Regions from separate parts of the Homo sapiens genome. Here region 2 is linked to region 1. The links are contacts of gene promoters, found by promoter capture Hi-C in blood cells and fetal thymus (Javierre and others, 2016). All regions are on one chromosome and are shown on one strand. Each heading gives the region's core, a stretch centred on a gene start or on the middle of the fragment in contact. The rest is flanking DNA. Distances are from core to core; before and after follow the strand shown.

Region 1 (4,887 bases), core at 2,141-4,640:
CATGGTTCAACACTTCTCAAAAGCCCAGTTGAGAAAATTGATTAGGATTAAGTGAAGTACACAAAGTTCATGCATTAATCTCTAGTAGAGTAGGACCGTCACATTAGTATATTTAGACCATATTACATCTGAAGGCTTGCTTTTATTGTGGGGTTATATCAAGGGATTCTGATTTTATCAAGGAACAATTAAAGAAATTGCCCTAGAAAATCTGATACTACATTTGCTGTAGGGACATAGTTTAGTATATTTCTCACTGTCTCCTGTGCTTAGTACTTGGGGTCATAGTTAGGTGTCTTCCACAAAAAAATTTTCTCACCCTCTTTGTTCGAGTTCTCATTTACCAAGCAACATCCTGATTTCTGTGTTACTCTCTCTACATAAAAATAATATGCTGGTCATACCGATTTTGAGTATTTCTCATAGTTAATTAATAAAGAGACTTCTGAATATGATCTAGCTTCCTATGCTTCACCACAGGGGGAAACATGCTGACCATGCCCTATGTGAGAATTTCTACTCCATGTCATGGCAATATTTCTTGTTGTAAATGACTAAATTAGTATTCTGGTTCTACCCCAATCTAATGTGCATTTTAGTTAATGTTAACCAATTTCTCAGAACCTGGTTATTATTTTTTTTTTCAAAAAAAAATAAATCTCTGGGCTTTAAACTAGAAAAAAAAATATCTGGGCTTTAAACTAGAGGGCTAGATACTGTCTTCCCTAAGATAAGATACCTACCTCTTCCAGTTGCACTTGTTTTTTTTTGGTTTTTTTTTGTTTTGTTTTGTTTTGGTTTTTTTTTGAGACGGAGTCTCGCTCTGTTGCCCAGGCTGGAGTGCAGTGGCGCAGTCTCGGCTCACTGCAAGTTCTGCCTCCTGGGTTCATGCCATTTTCCTGCCTCAGCCTCCCGAGTAGCTGGTACTACAGGTGCCCGCCACCACGCCTGGCTAATTTTTTGTATTTTTTAGTAGAGACTAAAAATGGTTTCACCGTGTTAGCCAGGATGGTCTCCATCTCCTGACCTCGTGATCCACCCACCTCAGCCTCCCAAAGTGCTGGGATTACAGGCATCAGCCACCTCGCCAGGCCTGCACTTGTATTTATTAACATATCCTATATAAAGTCTCAGGTAAGAGGCTCAGCTGAGAGCTAAATCTGAGGAAAAGCTCTGCTTATCCCTAGAACTATGAAATAGATTATACTGCCCTTCCCTATCCTCTCCTATTTACAACCAGGAAGCTTAGCATCAACTCTAAGGAATCTTTTAGAAATGGTTCTCAAACTTTTCATGTTTGTGAAATACTTTGAATGCCAGAATTTAGGGCAGCCAACTTAAATGAATTAAAGAAGGTAAAATAACACTAAATTAGTTATTGTACCATCTCAGAGGACATAGAACCCATCCACAATTAATCCCCTATCCATATGGTACACTTTCAGCATTGTAGGTGTTTGAGAATTATCTCTGCTCAATGATTTCTCATACAATGACAAGGCAAAGCTCTCTCACATTCCAGTGAACCACCATCTTCTTGTAAAGCCAACTTAATGCTATGCTTTGCCTTTAGTTCCAACTTGAAACAAATTGTACAACCTACAGCACCTCAATACTACATACAATGAACATAATTGTTTTATAACAAAAATTAAAGTTATACATTTGTGAAAATTTTGCTGCATACTATATCATCTCAGCACTCCAGTTGAGAACCACTGTCTTACCTGTTTTCAATTTCCCCCATTGTGGCTTACTGACATAATTCTAGTTTCTTTATTTCTAATGCTTTAATTCACATTTTACTATTTTATTGCATGCATGTCCTTCCTTCTTAAATTATTTGCAGAATGAAACTAAGTGTTCAAAAAATAAAATACAGAAAGGAAATGCTGTCTTTGGTGGCCACTCTCTATAGCCTTCTGCAAATAGAAGTAAAAAATAAGTGAGCCACAGCCTATTACAGTACCTACAGCAATGTCCACGAGATCCTCACTCAATAGGAGGGTTTAAAGTAATTAGTGATTTTTGAGAAGCTAACCATTACCATCCATACTCCATCTATTCTACTCACAGGAAGGGTTTCCCAATTTGTTAAAGAAACCCTCTCTGTAGAAAGATCTCTGCGAACCACATAACCTATTCTCTATAGACCTCCCTATTTCCTGCAGCCACATACAAATGGACACCAAAGTCTTTTCTTATTCTGGGACATAGCTAATGGTTTGTATGTCAAAGTTTCTTTCAGGCCTGTAAAATCTGAATCTGAGAGCCGGAGAGAAAAGAGACTCAGTAGTTATAATGACATAAAGGTGCAGACATGAAGCAATTCAACTTGTCTGTGCTTTGCAGACAAATGTCAACAACTGTTGGAATCCCTGCAATGCAACAATCAGAGATCATGTGAGATTTTGCTTTCTGTTTTTACTAAAAGTGTAAACCTGGCTGCAAGATAACCAGCAAACAAGCAGCTTCGATTTTGTGTACAAAGGACTGTTGATTATGCATGGACTATTTTCTTCAGTCACACTACTTTGTATGGATAGCAACACTGTCAGTGATGTCATCTTTTTAAACAACAGATCCGAATGTATAGGCACATTGTGTCAACTGAGCCCAAATCAATGACCTGGGTAATGCAATCAGGGTAACACTATTATTCCTCATCTAAACCATCCAAGCCCATAGACAAATAAATGCTAATCTGATGCATGTTTAAGGAATACGTTACATGGGAAAGAAAATCAAGCCCTTGTTTAGTTTTATTTACATTCTAATATGTACTTCCAGAAAATGCATCACAGAATTTACGTCATATGCATCAGAATAAGCTGTTTTATTTTTGTATTAGTAGCGGGCTAAGTTATTAACAATCATACTTTCTTGGATAAGAACATTTTTAACAAGGATATCTTCTAAAGAATGTGTATTCGTATAGCATACCAATACCTTTTCACAACTGTGGAATCAGAATAATTTATGGCATTCCCGATAGAGGAGGCAGCATTGTTTTTATTGATTGGAATAAGGAAAATTTTGAAGGATGTATATATAGCTTTTAGTTCCATCTCCGCTTGCTTTATGATTCGATTATTTGTTTACTTACTTTCATATGGGCATAACATGAATTTAAATCAAGCAGATTTAAAATTTTTCAACAGTTGGAACCTAAGCTTTCTGAGGTGAAAAATGTTTCTTAAAAGGTTTGTAGGAAAGAGATTTAACGAGTCTTTTCAATCGTTTAATAAAAGTATACACTGAGCGCCTTCTACAGAGTTGGGCAGGTGCTGCCGAGAAGCTTAGCGCTACGCCGGCCTCCAAGACCGCACATCCGGGACATTCGAGAGTCAGTCCGAGGCCCCGCCCTCCTAAGGGCGGGGCCACTGGGCAATCGGCGCAGGCCCTTCGTCGTGCCCCGCCTCGTCTGCCCCGCCAGCGCGTCGAGGGAGGGGCCAGCGACACATGGCCTAGTAACTGTCCGGCCGCGGCGCTGGCTTAAGCCATGGCTGAGGGTAGCCGGATTCCTCAGGCCCGGGCGCTCCTACAGCAGTGCCTGCACGCCCGGCTGCAAATTCGCCCAGCCGATGGGGACGTCGCGGCCCAGTGGGTGGAGGTAACGTCAGCCCGGCAGCTCTCGTTATCCTCCGGCGTGCGGGGCGGTTTTTTCCGCGTTGTCTCGGTGACTCGTCCGCTCTGTGTCTCCCTCTGAGACCGGCGGTCCGGCCGCGGGGATACCGGGTCAGCTTGAAGCTGGCCGCGGTGGCCTGCCTGGCTGCGCTTGTCTTTTCGGTCCAGCATCACCGTTCCCCAGCGCCAGTTGTAGCACCCGAGAGGAAGAGCGTGTCTCCCTTCTTGGGGGGACCACAGGTATTTGAAACTGAGTTCGGTGAACTTCAGGCCTTACTGTCTCAGACCCCTTGCAGCTCGTGGTCTATGCTGGTCGGGGGCAAGCTTGTAGGTCAGGTTTGCTGCAAGAGTTCATGATCTGCTTTGACTTACGCCTCAGATCGCGTCGAATTCCCCCCTATGTTGACTTGGTCTTAGCATAGAAATGAGATTTCCTAAGAAACAATTCTATTTCAAGAAGCCTTTTAAAAGTTTTGACCAATTTCCAACTGAGAAACAAAGACCTCTACTTTTATAACAATGTTGCCTTATCAAACACATTTCTCCAAAGAATTTAAAACATTTATGTCACTATGAGTTCCTTCTACTTTCATACATACTTTACTTTTTAAGACCGCCTGCCCCCACTGCATACAAAAACAAATAAAATTTTCTTTAAGGCCTCTGACGTATTTTTGGAGTACGTTGAAATGTAAGAAAAAAATTAGTTCATAATTAAGACTTTTGTAGATACTCAGAAACTTCAGTGTAGCAAAATCTCATTCGCTCGCCTTTTCTGCTGAATTCGGTCCCAGATCTAGCATTACTTAAAACAATTTTAGTTATTATTTTACATTTATTTTATTTTTTATATTTTATTTATTTATATTTTATTTTATTTTTTGAGATGAATTCTCGATCTGTCGCCCAGGCTGGAGTGCAGTGGCACGATCTCGGCTCACTGCAACCTCCGCCTCCCGGGTTCAAGCAATTTTCCTTCCTCAGCCTCCCGAGTAGCTGGGACAACAGGCGCAAGCTACCACGCTAACTTGTATTTTTAGCAGAGACGGGGTTTCGCCATTTTGGCCAGGCTTGTCTGGAACTCCTGACCTCAGGTGATCCACCTGCCTCAGCCTCCCAAACTGCTGGGATTACAAGCCTGAGCCACCGCACCCCGCCTACTTATTGTAAATAGTACCCGTGAACTATATGATGTGTGGGTGATTATTCTAAAATCAGAATCTGTTGCCCTGTGCTAATTTGGAAATATAAGCATAGAAA
Region 2 (4,589 bases), core at 1,732-4,231, 470 kb before region 1:
GAAAGAGAGAGAGAGAGAGGAAGGAAGGAAGGAAGGAAGGAAGGAAGGAAGGAAGGAAGGAAGGAAAGAAAAGAAAGAAAGAAAGAAAGAAAGAAAGAAAGAAAGAAAGAAAGAAAGAAAGAAAGAAAGAAAGAAGGAAAGAAAGAAAGAAAGAAAGAAAGAGGCCGGGTGCGGTGGCTCACGCCTGTAATCCCAGCACTTTGGGAGGCCGAGGCGGGTGGATCACGAGGCCAGGAGATCGAGACCATCCTGGCTAACACGGTGAAACCCTGTCTCTACTAAAAAATACAAAAAATTAGCCGGGCATAGTGGTGGGCTTCTGCAGTCCCAGCTACTCCAGAGGCTGAGGCAGGAGAATGGCATGAACCCAGGAGGCGGAGCTTGCAGTGAGCCGATATCGAGCCACAGCACTCCAGCCTGGGCCACAGAGCGAGACTCCGTCTCAAAAAAAAAAAAAAAAAAAAAAAGAAAGGAAGAATCCAACTGAACTAGAAGAGAACAGTCAGGACTGGGAGGGGACTTCAAAGCATGCACTGTAATAATGGGGGTAGTTACTACCCAATGAGCACCCACTCTGTGTCAGGCACTTAAAAAATGTGCAGTATTTAAGATATGAGATGCTCACTTGAATGGAAGGAAAAGGGTGGCAAATGAACATTTTTTGAACACTTAAAGAGCCAGTGCGAATCACTTTTCACACTTTATTGCATCCAATCCTCACCACAACACTCTGAGATAAGCATCTCTGTTCTATAAATTTGAGTTAGGGATACAGTATTGCATCGCTGTGGGCTCTGGAGCCCAAGAGGCTGTGCTCAAATTCTAACAGATATGTGACCTTAGCCTTACTACTAAGCCTTATTCCTAAGTCTCAGTTACCTCATCTACAAAAAGGTGACCTTTTTGTAGATGGGGTTGTTTAAAGACTAAATTTGTTAATATATTACAGCACTTAGCACAGTACTGGGCAAATAGTAAGGTCAATAAACATTAACTGTGATTGTTAAAAATGTGACTAAGATTACCCAGTGAGTAAGCTGGGGAGCCAGTGGAGAACAAAATAAGCTGAGGCCTCTGGGGATTCATTTGGTGAAGTTTTGTCATAGGGAAGAGGTTCCTACTGACATCAGGAAGTAGAACCAGGCTGGGTGAGTTGGTTCATGCCTGTAATCCCAACAATTTGGGAGGTCAAGGTGAGAGAATCACTTGAGGCCAGGAGTTTGAGACCAGCCTGGGCAACACAGAGAGACCTCTTCTCTTAAAAAGAAAAAAAATTAAATTAGCCAGACATCATGGCATGCACCTTCCAACATTGTGGCCTGCACCTTCCAAGCCCTAGCTACTTGGAAGGCAGAGGCAGGAGGATCACCTGAGCCCAGGAATTAGAGGCTGCAGTGAGCTATGCTCTCACCACTGTACTCTAGCCTGGGCAACACAGCAAGACCCCATGTCTGAAAAAAAAGTAGAACCAGACCCAGTGAACAGAAGTGTAACAGGGTATCTGGTAGGAAGCAACCTGAAATTAAATAGCTGGGTAATGACAGTTACTTTTCTGTCTAAGTGGACACCGATCTTCCCCATTTGGCAAAGAGTCATTAAGGGGCCACTCTTACTCATGATGCTGTGAGATATTTAACACTCTGTTGCCCTGGAGAGGACAGTCTAGTAGAAGTTATATGTGGCCTGACAAAGCCTGCCCCTCCAATACCCCTGTTATGCAGAGCTGGTCTCTGATGAAAGGCTGAACAATTGCAGGGAGGTCAAGGAGCCTCCTAGCAGGAGACATTATTAGAACCTTCCTGATGGGTTAGGATAGACCCCACAAGAAGCCTGGAGGAGAAAAGGACATCAAAAATTCCAAAGGGGAAACTCACCATGAGAAAAGGGACAGTCTAGACTGATGATCCAGTGTTACCAGCAGGATTAAGGGTACAGAGGTGTGAGAAGGCTGGTCCCATGTATCCCATGGCTGAGACTAGAAACTCTTCTGGTTGTGGGTGTGATTTGAGAACAATGACTGAGCACTATGAACTAAAAGAGCTGTAATCTTGAAGTCCAAGTCCTAGGTCCATGAAGAAGACCTAAGTCAGTGAGAGAATCCCTGCAGCAGTGGGGAAGTGGCTGCTGGCCTGTGTAGAGCCAGTTTTCAATATTACCCCACAGGAAGAAGCAGCAATATTGGCAGACCACTTGGACTGCTCAGTTTTTTCTCCGCTTGCTTTTAGAACTGGGACTTAGCCCTTTTGGAATGAATGAAGACCAGAGTGTTCTTGGCAATCTTGGATGTTTAGAAGAGGTGAGAGGCGATAGGGCCTTAAGAGAGAGATACTGGGCTTCCTATTAGTATTATCAGGAAGATGTTCTGGCAACTAATAGGGGAATAAAAGATATATCTATTATTTGTACTCCCCAGGTCATTAAAGTGGGTTATATCATGGGTTATATCAGTTGTATATAACTTAATAAAACTGAAATAAGCTTAATGTTAAGGACTTTCTAAAAATCAGGATTAATAATAATAATAGCAGCTAGTATTTATTTGGTGCTTACTATATGCCAAATTCTACCTCCCTTAGCTCATTCATCATCACAAAACCCTATGAATGTGAAAGCAACACAATAGTACATGGATGAATAAATGGATAAACAAAATATGGCATATATATATATATATATATATATACACACACACACACACACACCACATACAAAGGAATACTATTCAACCTCAAAGAGGAGGGAAATTCTGACATATGCTACAAAATAGATAAACTTGGAAGACATTATGCTAAGTGAAATGAGCCAGTCACAAAAAGACTATATTTTCCATGTATATAAGGCATTTAGAGTATAAAAAATCATAAAGACAGAAAGTAGAATGGTGATTCCCAGTGGCTGGGAGGAGGTAGAAATGGGAGTTATTGTTTAAGAGGTATAGAGTTTCCATGTTACAAGATGAAAAGAGTTACGGAGATGGATGGTGGTAATGATTGCAGAACATTATGAATATATTTAATATTACTAGACTGTTCACTTAAAATTGAGTAAGATGGTACATTTTATACGTATTTTACCACAGTTAAAAAAAAAATGTTAGGGGAAAAAACCGGCTATGAGGTAGCAGTTGTTTCTATCACCATTTTACAGATGAGGAAACTGAGGCAGAAAGAGGCTAAAGTATCTTGTTCAAGGTCACACAGTAGACATGGGTGGAACAAGAATTACATGACAGGGCCTCCTGATCACAGAACCTATTCTTTTACCTCTGTCCTCTTCTCCCTTTCTGTAAAGATGGAGAGATACAATGCCCCATGGGGATGCAGTTGATGGGATTAGAATAGATGGGTGGTTGGACTATAACACCTACAAAATCCATTTCTTTGCTGCAGCACTTCCTTCCAACCTTTAGAATTTGTGTGCTTCATTTAGCTCTACAGAATTACTATCAAAATGAACTGTTTGCTATGGTTGGAAAACAAGCTTAGGAACTACTGCTAAGGAATATAAAGATAAACCACATACTGAGATGCATTCTAAGTCTACAGGTCAAACCTATTACAACAATCTTTAGAGAAACAGCATTTGTTCATCCAACAAATATTTATTACATGCCTTCTATATGTATTGTTCTAGGTGCTTGGTATATAGCAGTGAACTAAATGGACAAAGATCTCTGCTTTTGTGGATTTTACAGTCTTGTGGAGGAGAGAAAATAAACAGTAAACCCAGTAACTCAGTAAATAATATAGTACATTAGGAGGCAATAAGTACTTGATCACAGCTGCAGTTTTAAATTAGGTTGGCAGGGGAGACCTCATTGAAAAGGTGACATCTAAGCAAAAGCTGAAGGTGTCAGAGGCAGCCACGTGTGAAGGAAGAACATTTCAGGCAGAAGAAATATCCAGGGCAAAGGCCTAAGACAAGAGCCTGTGCGGCTGGAGTTGCTACAGGGAGGCCCATGTGACTAGGGCAGAGATGGGGAGGGGGTGAGGAGTGTGAGGTCGGTGCAAGCAGTGAAGGAGGGGTTGATTATACAAGTCTTCCAGGCCACTGTAAAGACCGTGGCTTTACACTGAGTGAGATGGGGAAGCATTGCAGGGTTTTCAGCAGAGAAGTGACATGATCTGACTCACACGGGATATATGAAAACACACCGTATTTAATATTGTTTTGACTTGAAAAGATTCTTTATCACTGAGATCACTGCTCATGAGGAAATGGAGCTTACATCTAAGCAAATGTCATCACTATGTGCTGAGAACCCCACTGATCCTGTGAGTGCAGTGGAAGGAGAAGGAGTTGGGGGAGTTGAGTAAAAACAGTTGTGTCATTTTTTTCAAAGAGCTGCTGGGAGGAATAACTAATAACAATAGCTGTAAAGGTCACTGCAAATATTAAGTGCTATCAAATGCTAACTATTATTTAAAAATAGAAAGCCTGTCATTATTCTTTGGCCCAGGAGTCAGGACCTCTGGCAGCCTGCACGCCTCGGCCAGCCTGTTAATGTTTCAGTGCCTTTAAAGGACTTTCCCATCAGACTATGTTATCTGATGGCTGTGTCTCCCATCTACAGCTATGGTGGGAGGAAC

What was found. Contacts are between HindIII fragments. The CHiCAGO score rates a contact against its expected background, and 5 or more counts as called.
Region 2: a fragment that was not itself captured here is called in contact with the fragment with the promoter of DTD2 in region 1 in 1 of 17 cell types (naive CD4 T cells); the score reaches 5.8 in naive CD4 T cells.

Annotation. Positions count from the first base shown.
Region 1 is chr14:31,456,009-31,460,895 of GRCh38, reverse strand. It overlaps DTD2 (D-aminoacyl-tRNA deacylase 2), which reads left to right and starts at 3,390. Exons shown (of 3, transcript NM_080664.3): 1 at 3,390-3,613. The coding sequence starts at 3,503. RefSeq lists enhancers at 3,226-3,405, 3,546-3,755, 3,200-3,785, 3,786-4,371. The HindIII fragment of the contact is 653 bases long and covers 3,301-3,953 here.
Region 2 is chr14:31,927,087-31,931,675 of GRCh38, reverse strand. No RefSeq gene overlaps it. Among named protein-coding and RNA genes, the nearest start is that of LINC02313, 15 kb to the left of the region's middle. The HindIII fragment of the contact is 1,002 bases long and covers 2,481-3,482 here.